Regions from separate parts of the Homo sapiens genome. Here regions 1 and 2 are each linked to region 3. Evidence: promoter capture Hi-C in 16 types of primary human blood cells and fetal thymus (Javierre and others, 2016). All regions are on one chromosome and are shown on one strand. Each heading gives the region's core, a stretch centred on a gene start or on the middle of the fragment in contact. The rest is flanking DNA. Distances are from core to core; before and after follow the strand shown. Region 1 holds the start of LOC124903341 (a long non-coding RNA gene). Region 2 overlaps SLC8A3 (solute carrier family 8 member A3). Region 3 holds the start of COX16 (cytochrome c oxidase assembly factor COX16).

What was found. The method cuts DNA at HindIII sites, captures the fragments that hold promoters and counts their contacts. A CHiCAGO score of 5 or more calls a contact.
Region 1: a fragment that was not itself captured here is called in contact with the fragment with the promoter of COX16 in region 3 in 2 of 17 cell types (total B cells and naive B cells); the score reaches 6.6 in total B cells.
Region 2: a fragment that was not itself captured here is called in contact with the fragment with the promoter of COX16 in region 3 in 1 of 17 cell types (erythroblasts); the score reaches 5.4 in erythroblasts.

Annotation. Positions count from the first base shown.
Region 1 is chr14:70,820,916-70,824,268 of GRCh38, forward strand. LOC124903341 (a long non-coding RNA gene) reads left to right here and starts at 958. Exons shown (of 2, transcript XR_007064246.1): 1 at 958-1,207; 2 at 2,905-3,069. RefSeq lists a silencer at 878-1,077. The HindIII fragment of the contact is 2,143 bases long and covers 400-2,542 here.
Region 2 is chr14:70,088,569-70,092,135 of GRCh38, forward strand. All of the region lies in intron 2 of SLC8A3 (solute carrier family 8 member A3), which reads right to left. Among named protein-coding and RNA genes, the nearest start is that of SLC8A3, 99 kb to the right of the region's middle. The HindIII fragment of the contact is 2,880 bases long and covers 189-3,068 here.
Region 3 is chr14:70,358,298-70,361,768 of GRCh38, forward strand. COX16 (cytochrome c oxidase assembly factor COX16) reads right to left here and starts at 1,386. Exons shown (of 4, transcript NM_016468.7): 1 at 1,222-1,386. The coding sequence starts at 1,290. All of the region lies in intron 3 of SYNJ2BP-COX16 (SYNJ2BP-COX16 readthrough), which reads right to left. It also overlaps the pseudogene RNU2-51P. RefSeq lists enhancers at 1,106-1,415, 1,876-1,965. The HindIII fragment of the contact is 4,146 bases long and covers 851-3,471 here.

The sequences.
Region 1 (3,353 bases), core at 221-2,720, 460 kb after region 3:
ATACAGACTCTGGAACCAGGTTGCCTGAGTTGAATCTCAGTTCTGTCCAGTTCTGCCATGACTCACTGTGTGGTCTAGGACAATTTACTTAGCCTCTCTGTTAAGTCTTGGTTTCTTCAAGTGCAAAATGGAGATTTTAAATAATCCTAACTACCTCCTAAACTAGCTTAGAGATTAACTGAGATAATACGGAGGCAGCCCTAAGAGCAGTGCCTAGAACATAGTGAGCCCTCAATAAAGGCAGAAGGGATCGTACTACCTGGTTGGGACTTTTTAGCCAATTTTACTAATAAGGAAACGGAAGCCCAGGGAGTTTATTCAGTGTGGCTAAGTACTAAGGAACAGTACTAAGGAACAGAAGCCCAAGACCCAATCAGGGGTTCCTGCTTCTGACTCCAAAGCTTTTCCCACTCAGAATCCACTTCCTTAGGGAGTGTGGGTTTTATGTTAAAACAAGCCAAACTTTCGCACCGGCTCTTCTGGTGTCTCCTAGCTTTGCTTCTGAGAAAGGACAGCTGAGGTTGGAGGGAATAACAGCAAAAATAATTGACATTCTTGGGTCCATCGGTCGGTGTGCCGGGCCTGTGCCAAGGACTTCACCTGCCCTTCCCATTCAATATTCACCAAAAAACCTATGTGCTAGGTACTTTGAATAACCACTTTATATAAAAAGTGGGGTGCAGAGCCACTAAGCAAGCAGGGGTGGCGTGTGTCGGAGCCAGAATCCATTATCGGCTCTCTGATCAGTTTACCCCCAGGAGGACCTTTCCCCGACCCCCTACCCCGCCGGGAGCAGCCTATCTTCGTGCAAAATGCACCGAGCTACATACAGAGGCTGCCTTCCAGGACTCAGCGCGGAGGGTTAGGCTGCCTCGAACCCCATTCTGGTAACTCCATCCCAGCTGGGACGCCGGGCCCTCTCCGCCCCTTGCGGCCCACCCCTCCCCTTCTGCCCCCCAACACGGGGACCGGGCGGGCTCTCGGTCGGCGCCACCGCGCCCCCGCATCAGGATCCTCGGCGCTGACGTTCTCTCCCCAGGGGGAGGAGGGGCCCAGGAAGGGTTAGGTCCGCAGCCAGTGCGGAGAAAGGGCCCTGGGCTCGGCTCCCACGCTCGGGCAGGCCTCCCGCCGGGGGATCGGAGCTGCGGTCACTCGCGGCTTCGGGGCCGTGGCGTCCCGCGCACAGCTTCCGCGCCTCTGCAAGGCGGTGAGTCGTTTCTTCCCGGCACAGGAGGGACAGTTTCCCCACGTGGACGCGGGGCTGGCAGCGGGAGGGGCAATAGCGCTGGCGGAGCTTAGGGTTTCGCGGGAGCAACCAGCGCGCGCCTCTCTCTCTCCCCTCCCCTCGCTCGCGCTCGCTCTCCCCCGCCCTCTGTCTCTCCCCTCTCTCTCTCTCGCTTTCCCCCCACTCTCTTGCTTTCCCCCTTCTCTCTCTCTTCCCCTCTCCTCTCGCTCGCTCCTCGTCTCCCCTGGCTCTCTCGCTCTCCCCTCTCCCCGTCTCCCCACGCTCTGTCTCGCTCTCCCCCGTCTCTCTCCCTCCCCCTCTCCTCCCGCTCTCTCTCGCTCTCCTCTCTCTTCTCCCCGACCCCCTTGCGTTCTCTCTTTTTCTCTCTTCCCTCGCTCTCCCCTCCCCTGCCCCGTCCCTCTCCTCTCCCCTCTCCCCACATCTCTCTCGTTCGCCCCTCTCTCCCCTCTTCGCCCTCTCTCTCTCCTTCCTTCTTCCCACCCTCTCTTCCTCCGTCTCTCCCTCCCCGCCTCCTTTCCTCCTTCCCTTCACCCCCACTTTCCTTCTTCCCTCCTCCTCTCCTCCTCCCCTCCTCCCCTCCTTCCTTCCTCCCCTCCTCCCTTCCTCCGCCCCCTCCTCTTACAGGGAAGGATGCCCTCGGTTTCGCTGCGCTCTCCCAGGAGCGAACTCCCGCAGCCGCTCAGGCCAGCGCCAGAGACCTTGTCCCTACCAAGGCGGGCCGCGCCCCTTGGTGGGCTGGGCTCAGGGAGCGCGCTTTGCACGCTTCAGATGTCTTTGTGGGAAGCCTGGGAGTAGCTAGGTGTGAATGTGCTGCCCTTAATTTAAGCCACCAGTTGTAAATATGTGTTCTAGTGCATATTAATAACTCTCCCTCGACCCACTCGCCTCCTGCCACTCCAGTTGCTCCAACAGGGACCCCCTCTTCCCTTCCCTCGGGCCAGCAGCTCTTCCTGTACAGGAGAAGCGATCTGGGTAGCTCAGGAGCTGCCTGTAGGTCTGCGTATGGCCTGTTTCTCTTTCTTCCCCTCTGTCCCACACTCTCCGCTCACTCCTGTCTCCCTGCTGTCACTCTGCAGCTATGACACTAGATCACTAATAAGGGTAGGTGAGAAGGAAAGGGAAGAGGAAAAGAAAATAACAGCCATTTATTCTGATAAACCCTCAACATGTGACACCTGGGTTCCTTCCAGGCATTTGCTGTGAAAATAGGTGGTCCTGGTTCTCAGTAGTCCCAAAGCCTCTAGTCCGGATGGGGGTAGAATTGCCGCAGATGCGGAATCCACTAACAGTCGAGGAAGCTTATCTTCCTGGAAGCCTTCAGCCTCCCACTCCCACCTCTGCCCCATTCTGTTTGCTTCCTCCCTGTCTCAGCTTCTGCTTCTCTCCTTTTTATAACCTGCTGCTAAGAAAAGTCTGAAAACTTGAATTATAAATACATAATATATCAAGTATTGCCTGAAATAGAGATTTGAAACCTAAAAGGGAGGAAAGAAAAGAAGCATCTTGAATTCTAGGAGAAGCAGTCCTGGGTGCCGCGTCCCCAAGGACTGGCTGCAGCTTCTCTCGGCCGCGGTTGCCTCATTTATAACATGGGGATACCCATCCATACCAACCATGGTGCAGGGGATTGCACCAGATCATTCTCACATCTCTTCCAGCTCTGAAGAAATGGAGGTGAACAGAGGAACAGCCACTCCCAGCAAGCAAGGGAAGAAGAATCTTGAAAGCCTGTGACTTCACAGAGACTTCTTGATTGATGCCCCTGAAATCAGCCTGCCAAGTGTGGCCTCTGCAGCATAAATACAAGGAGTCTGATGACACAAGACGGCGTCTGATGATAGTTCTGTCACCCTCAGCCATATTATAATTCCATGTCCTCGTAGTCACCCTGCCATAATCCCACCATTTCCTGCAAACACAGCTTCTCCTGCCTGATGAAGTCTTACCTATCCTTTAAGACCTAGCTCCGACCGGGTGCAGTGGCTCATGCCTGTAATCCCTGCACTTTGGGAGGCCGAGGCAAGTGAATCACTTGAGCCCAAGGAGTTCTGAGACCAGCATAGGCAATATGGCAAAACCCCAGCTCTACAAAAAAAAAAAAAAAAAA
Region 2 (3,567 bases), core at 379-2,878, 270 kb before region 3:
CAAGATAACTTATTATAAATCCTTGGCCCTCAGTTCCTTGACCTTTTCCCTTTTAATAGCCTCAACCTTTACTTTACCCATCCACTCTCAAGTCTACACCCTGAGCATTATCATCACCTAGAACTACTCCTCATCAGAGAAATCAAATTCAAACATTCCATAGCTGAACTTCTTATTTTCTTTACCAAAGCTTCTTCTCCTCCTTTAATCCCTATGTCAGTGGATGGTACCACTATGCATTCTTGCCTGCATTCTGGCTTCCTCTCCAGACTACCCCCATTTCCAATCAGGAACCAGATCCTGTTCTTTTTACCTACTTCTACCTCATGAACACATTTTCTTTTTTTCATTCCCTGCTAAAACTCTCATATATTGGCCACCATCACCTCTGGCCTGGATTCTAGTAACAGTCTCCTAACTTATATTCCTGACCTGATTTGTACCCACTCAACTTCACTCACCCAACACAGCTGAAGTTATCTGTTCAAGTGGCAAACCTCAGTATGCTCTTCCTTCCCTCCAAATTTTGAATGGTAACTCCTCTGTCCTCCAAACTTCTTAGCATGCTGAAAGAGGCCTTTTTCTAGAATGTTGTTACTTGTTCTCTTCCTTGCCCAGTTCCACACATCCTCCCCATCTCAGACACCATCTTCTCTGAGATGCTTTTCCCAACTTCCTTAGACTGATTTGGGGAGCCTCCCACAGCTGGTGTTTGCCTTTGGGATGGCACTTAACATACTAAATACTCAATTGAAATTACTTGTTTATAAGACCACCTCCAGCATGAAGAACAGTTTCCAAACCATAACAGGAGCTCATAAATGCTTATGAAATGAATGAAAAGAGATGCAAGTGAGAAACATTTTGAATATAAGAAGGGGAAGTAAGACAAAGTAAAAGATAAATTTAAGGTTTGCTACTGGGTGAAAGAGGTGGGGATTGTGGAGCAATGGGCAGAGGAAGAACTTCCAGAAGAGAAGAAGCAGGTTTTGAAAATGACACTTTCAAGTTGGGCATGCTGACTTGGAGAATGACTAGATATGAGGGAACAGAGCCAGGAAACACAGATTTGGGACTTAGACACAAAGAAGGTATCTTTGAATCCATCTGTGTAGATGATGTGTTTAATACATATTGTGTGGCTTCATTACACCGTCGAGCCATTGTGACTTCCGTTTGCTGTTTTCATGCAATATGATGCTTGTTTTTTAATTGGCTTCTACCAATTTTCCCCCAAAAGATAATTTCTTTGATCAACACATTGGCTGACTATTGATTCATACATTTCTATTTATTTATAGAGAGAGGAGCAGAGGACCAAGATTTGTATACGCAGGAAATTTTACCAATTATCCAGGTAATTCAGGTATAAATTAGAGAGTTTTTTTCTTAATTTTTGAAATAATTATTTTCATTGTTTCTGATTTTGAAGATCTGCGGGGATGTTTTTCTCCTGTAACTACCCTTTCTGTCTTTTTTTTTAACATATTTTGCTAACTGCAGCCATTAATTACCTCATCACACAATCAAGCCATTGTGACTTTTGTTTGCTGTTTTTATGCAGCCTGATGCTTGTTTTTCAATTGCCTTCTACTGTTTTCCCCGAAAGATAATTTCTTTGATCAACACATTGGCTGACCATTGATTTATGCATGTTTTACCAGAAATATTCTTGCTTGATCTCCCTCCTACCTCCTCTAAGTTGATTTCCCATTAAGGAATACTGTGTTCTGAATTTTATTCTCTTCCCTTCCAAGTGAATAATTATCAGTACTTAAACTATCACGTCATATGCGCATGTCCTCCTGCCTACTAATTAATTTCAGAAGCTCAGTGCCCGTTCACAGATAAAAGAACGGTGCATTGGTACTTCACAGGGGTCACATTTTACCCCTAGAACCCCAAATCAGTCCACATTTTCCTAATCGTGGTATACAGGTTTGATTTAGTAAAGTCACAATTATCTTTCAGAGTTGAAATATAAACATAAAGGCGCTTCATGAATCTAATCATATTCCTTCCTGCCACAGGAAGAACCTTCAGTCTTTTGGAAAAACTTGTATATATATAGTGGTTCTTATTCCAAATAAGTTAAATATAGTGAATTCCTGATTCATATAGAAGTATTACAATATTTCCTTGATGAATTTGTATAGCTGGAAGCAGATCTGCCATGAAATGTGAAACCGCATCCCACTTGTGTGAGCTGCCCTGGTCAAATGTGTAAATCTCTAAGTGTAGCAAAATCTCCCTTTGCTCTAGGAAGTAGTTCTTAGCTTTTTGGGGGATCACAAACTGCTTCGATAATTCAGGTGCTTCTTACCAGAAAAATGCACATACTCACACACAATATTTTGTATATAATTTCAGGGGGTTCAAAGATCTTTGAAAACCTAGCCATCAATCCTCTAAAGGTCCATGGAGTGCCAGTTGACAACCCCTGGACTAAGAGCTAAAGATCAATTATTGATGGATGAGGGATTTCATAAACCTCAGAATGTGAGGAAAACAGCTGCAACGATAATGTGCACTGCTGGGCAGCAGCTACAACTCGCAGCAGGAGATGCACGGCTTGTATATAGTCAAGCCCAGCATGGCACTGAGTGGGCTGCCATCTTCCTTTCTGCAGGACATCACGTTTTCTACTCATTTTATTATGGGATTTAATTTTATGGCAGCAGAGCTCTGATTTTATAATGGAAACCAACACAAAATAGCTCCTTTTTTAATAACAAAAATTTGTCTTACAATCATTTCAGCTAAAACAAACTCGGCTTTTAGCAGGAGGGAGAATGGGAAAGGAGGAAGCTCCTGTGTTAAAAGAGCTGCTCTCTTTGCCTCTTCTCCCTTCCTTCCTACAAACCCTGGCTCTTCACTTTCTTTAATATCGTATACCCCCTTGACTCCTACTCTCTTTTATTAGGTCTCATTTCATTTTCTTGAAGCTGGTACTTGAATATCCTATATCAGTTTCAATCTTTCAATGTCTACTATTGATCTCATTTCATATTGCTTTGCAGATATCTGGTGTCGGAGCCACGCACCCCTCCCTTGAATCCTAACAGGGAAGCTTGGTGCTTTTGATCATTTGAATCACCATCTTTTACGTTCTATTTTAACTTGAGGCAACATAATCTCCCTCTTTCAATACTTACTTCAAACTTAGCTGATCTTTGATTTTTCGAAGTCATGTTTAGAAGTGTGACCTGCAGGATATGCCAGCCTGATAACTACAATTACAAACTGGATTATTTTGCTCATCTCACCATCATCCTCACAATTGCATTTATTACTATTTTAAATGTACATGAAAGCTCATTAGTTACTGAGACAATTTGAGATTTTCTCTCCCTTCCCCCAAATCCTCTAAAACACCATTGTGTTATGGATATGTGGTTCTCAAGCCAACATTTCTCACCACGTTACTTCCTATGCAACCCTCACAGACTGTAAACTTTGTTTTTCTTTGATTCTATTCTAAAGAAATCCTTGTAGGGTTCTTGAGATCCTAACTCCACATGATTTTCAAAGGACTTTGATTTTTCTATCCTTAACATCAGGGCTTTA
Region 3 (3,471 bases), core at 136-2,635:
TGGCTCCATAACTAAGAATATACTAATATACGAATATATTAGTATACTAATATCGAATTTGCTAAAAACAACAATTTTTTTTTTTTTTTTTTTTTTTGGAGAGACAGAGGTCTTGCTGGTTTGGAACTCCTGACCTAAAGCGATCCTCCTGTCTTGGCTTCCCCTAACACTGGGATTACAGGTGTGAGCCATCGTGCTTGGCCCAGATACTTCAAATGGGTGAATCTTTTGGAGATTCCTAAAATCCACATTTGATGAATGTGGATTTTTCAAAACTGTGTAAAATATCCATTACCTTTCTAAGATCACTTCTTTCCTTTAGTCTGCTTAAATGGAAAAGCTGGTAATTTCATCTGCGCCAACATTCATACAAAATAAAAATATAGTCTGTATTTAAAAGCAGCTTTTGTTCATATGCTTTAATTATTTCATTTACTAACACATCAAGGCTTGCTGAAGCAAAATAACTGGCCCGTAATCAAAAAGCAAATAAGAGTCATCTGGATTTCAACTCTGGTTGTCTTAAGCCAGCCTCAGCCTGCATTTCATGACATCCTTAGGGAACTCAGTGTGGATATGGATGAAACCATATAAACACGGAAGCTGTTTTCAACGTGCTTTAGAAATTATAACACAGCAATCATTCTGGCTACAATGTGGCAGGCACCGTACTCAACACTTTATTCACAAGGTGTTATTAGTTCATCACAACTCTAAGTATTAAGCTAATTCACAAACTAGAAAGATGAAACAGAAAGATACCAGGAATTCGTGCAGTTAAATGGAATACATCTAGTCCCAATGATCCACAGTATCGTCAAAACATAGCTAAGTTGGGGGCGAGGAAGCAAGCTTAGTAATCATCCAAACTTGGCTTAAAGTGTGGTTCTGACTGAATTCTCTGAGCTTCAATTTACTTAACTGTGAATCAAGGGTAGTAACAATGACCGCGTTCGACGATGGGAAAGACGCCACGCTCACAAGCAGACAGATCCTAGTACACCTGAAATCCAACCGGGAGTGGGGGACAGCGGCGGGGAAGTGGGGGTGTGGAAAAGACTGGTGGAAGAGCTTTTAGGAAAGCTCTCACCCCGTCGCTAGCTCCTTCCTAGCCCGAGTGCCAGCCCTTAACTTCACATTTTACAGATTCCCTCCCAGGTCTTGATCCTGCCAAGGAGGAGGGTCCCACCCCTTGCGGAAGATCCTCCTCACTCCACTCACCAACATGGGGACTCCATAGCCGAGAGTCTTGTTCTTGCGAAAAGCACGCATCACCGCGGGTGCAAACATGAGTGAACTCTTCCATCGGCTCAGAACTCCAAGCGGGCCTAGCGCAGACTCCCAAATCTCAGCAGCTCACGCTCTCACCAAGACGAGTACGTCCTTAACTCACTTCCTTTTCCTTGGTTATTTGGTGCTCGGTCCTTAGTGAATGGTTTCCGCTAGGCAAAAGCAATCGAGCCATCGTAACATACTTGTGCGTCCGCCCAGAAATGTGGGCGTCAGCGTTTTTGGTTCCGTAACGTCGGCGTGCAATTGGGATTTAGAGATTTGAATCGGTTTACGATCACCACCAAATTGATCTGGAAACCAGTACTTCCCACGTTCTGGGTCCTAACTAACGTCTGCTTAGAACACTCCCTTAGGCACATAGCCACTCGATAAAATCAGCTAAGGAAAAAAGTATTTTGAGGCCGGGCGCGGTGGCCTGGGTGGGTGGCCTGTAATCCCAGCACTTTGGGAGGCCGAGGCCGGTAGATCACCTGAGGTCAGGAGTTCTAGATCAGCCTGGTCAACATGGTAAAACCCCGTCTCTATTAAAAAAAAAAAATACAAAAATTAGCCGGGCGTGGTGGCAGGCGCCTGTAATCCCAGCTACTGGGGGGCCGAGGCAGGAGAATCGCTTGAACCCGGGAGGCGGAGGTTGCAATGAGCAGAGATCGCGCCATCGCACTCCAGCCTGGGGAACAAGAGCGAGACTTCGTCTCAAAAAGAAAAAAGAAAAAAAAGTATTTTGAAGCTGGTACTCCAGTCTTTATGGCTATTTGTGGGATGAGGAATTTGCCAGTTTAATGGAGACTTTTAAAAATAAATCGCTTTTGAAAGATTAGGTTGAAATGTAATCAGTGTAGTGTCTCATCAGTCATTACTGAACTTTTAATGCTAATGATTTTACTGTGAGATAACCTGTAATCTTTAGTCATTTATGAATGTCTATTTACCAATGATTCAGCAACCATACAGGCCACCTTTCAGCGTGTCTTTGAAAGGGTTCTAGGAACACAGATAAAAATATATGATCCTTACCTTAAAGACACTGGCGATTTCATGGGCACAGAAACAAACATGTGTGAAGTACTGGGATAGCTTAGGAAGCCGATCCCCCACGTGTCCCATTTACCAGAGTGAATCAGAGTGCAGGTGATGCGGAATATTATCTTCCATGCTATTCCTGAAATATTTCCATCTGTCCCTGCCTCTCTGTTACCACTGAAATGTTCCTTTTTTTAATTCCTTATCATCTTTTCACCTATTAAAGTAGCCTCTTAAGTGGTCTCCAGAAGAGAAGCTCCAGATCTACTGCAGGCTACTCCAGTGAAACTTATCCTTTTGGCTAAGATCAAGTGTAGTATCTGTTCTTAACAGTTTAATATTTGACACATTCTCTATCCAAGGAAAATATGTTAAATGGGTTTTTGAAGCAAGGAGATGGAATAGGAGTTTGCTCCACCACTCTACACATCAACCTGTATTTCAATACCTCCAGAAACCCAGGAACGGTGCATCTCTCCCATCTTATTTACTTCCTTTTGATATTTCAAAATTCATGCAGACCAGGCATGGTGGCTCATGCCTGTAATACCTGCAGTTTGGGAGGCTGAGGCAGGAGGATCATTTGAGCCCAGGAGTTCGAGACCAGCCTGAGCAACAAAGCAAGACCCCATCTTTACAAATAATAATAATAATAATAAATTAGCCAGGCATGGTGGGGTCTCAGCTACTTGGGAAGCTGAGGTGGGAAGATCACTTGAGCCCAGGAGGTCCAGGCTACAGTGAGCCGTGATCATGCCACTGCACTGCAGCCTGGGTGACACAGCTAGACCCTGTTTCAAAAATAAATAAATAAATCTCACGTGGCATCCAGGTTAGTTAAGCGTATCACATCTCCTACTTTCCCTAAGATCCTAGAAGCCAAAGGCGCTGCTCTAAAACTCTAGCGTTTTCCTACATCTTCACTACATAAAACATCAGCCTACTGGATACTACTCCATCAAAACCCGGCACCTAAGTAGTAGCTAATAATGGGTTAAATCGTATACATATATTCAAAATAATGCTAGAGTCGATAATCTTACACTTTTCAGATAAGGCATCTATCCAATTTAAGGCACTCTATGTCTTTAGTATCTTGTTTGTTCAATCACTCAAATAAGCATTTATTGAGAACCTTGAAATGGCCCTGAAGGAGTA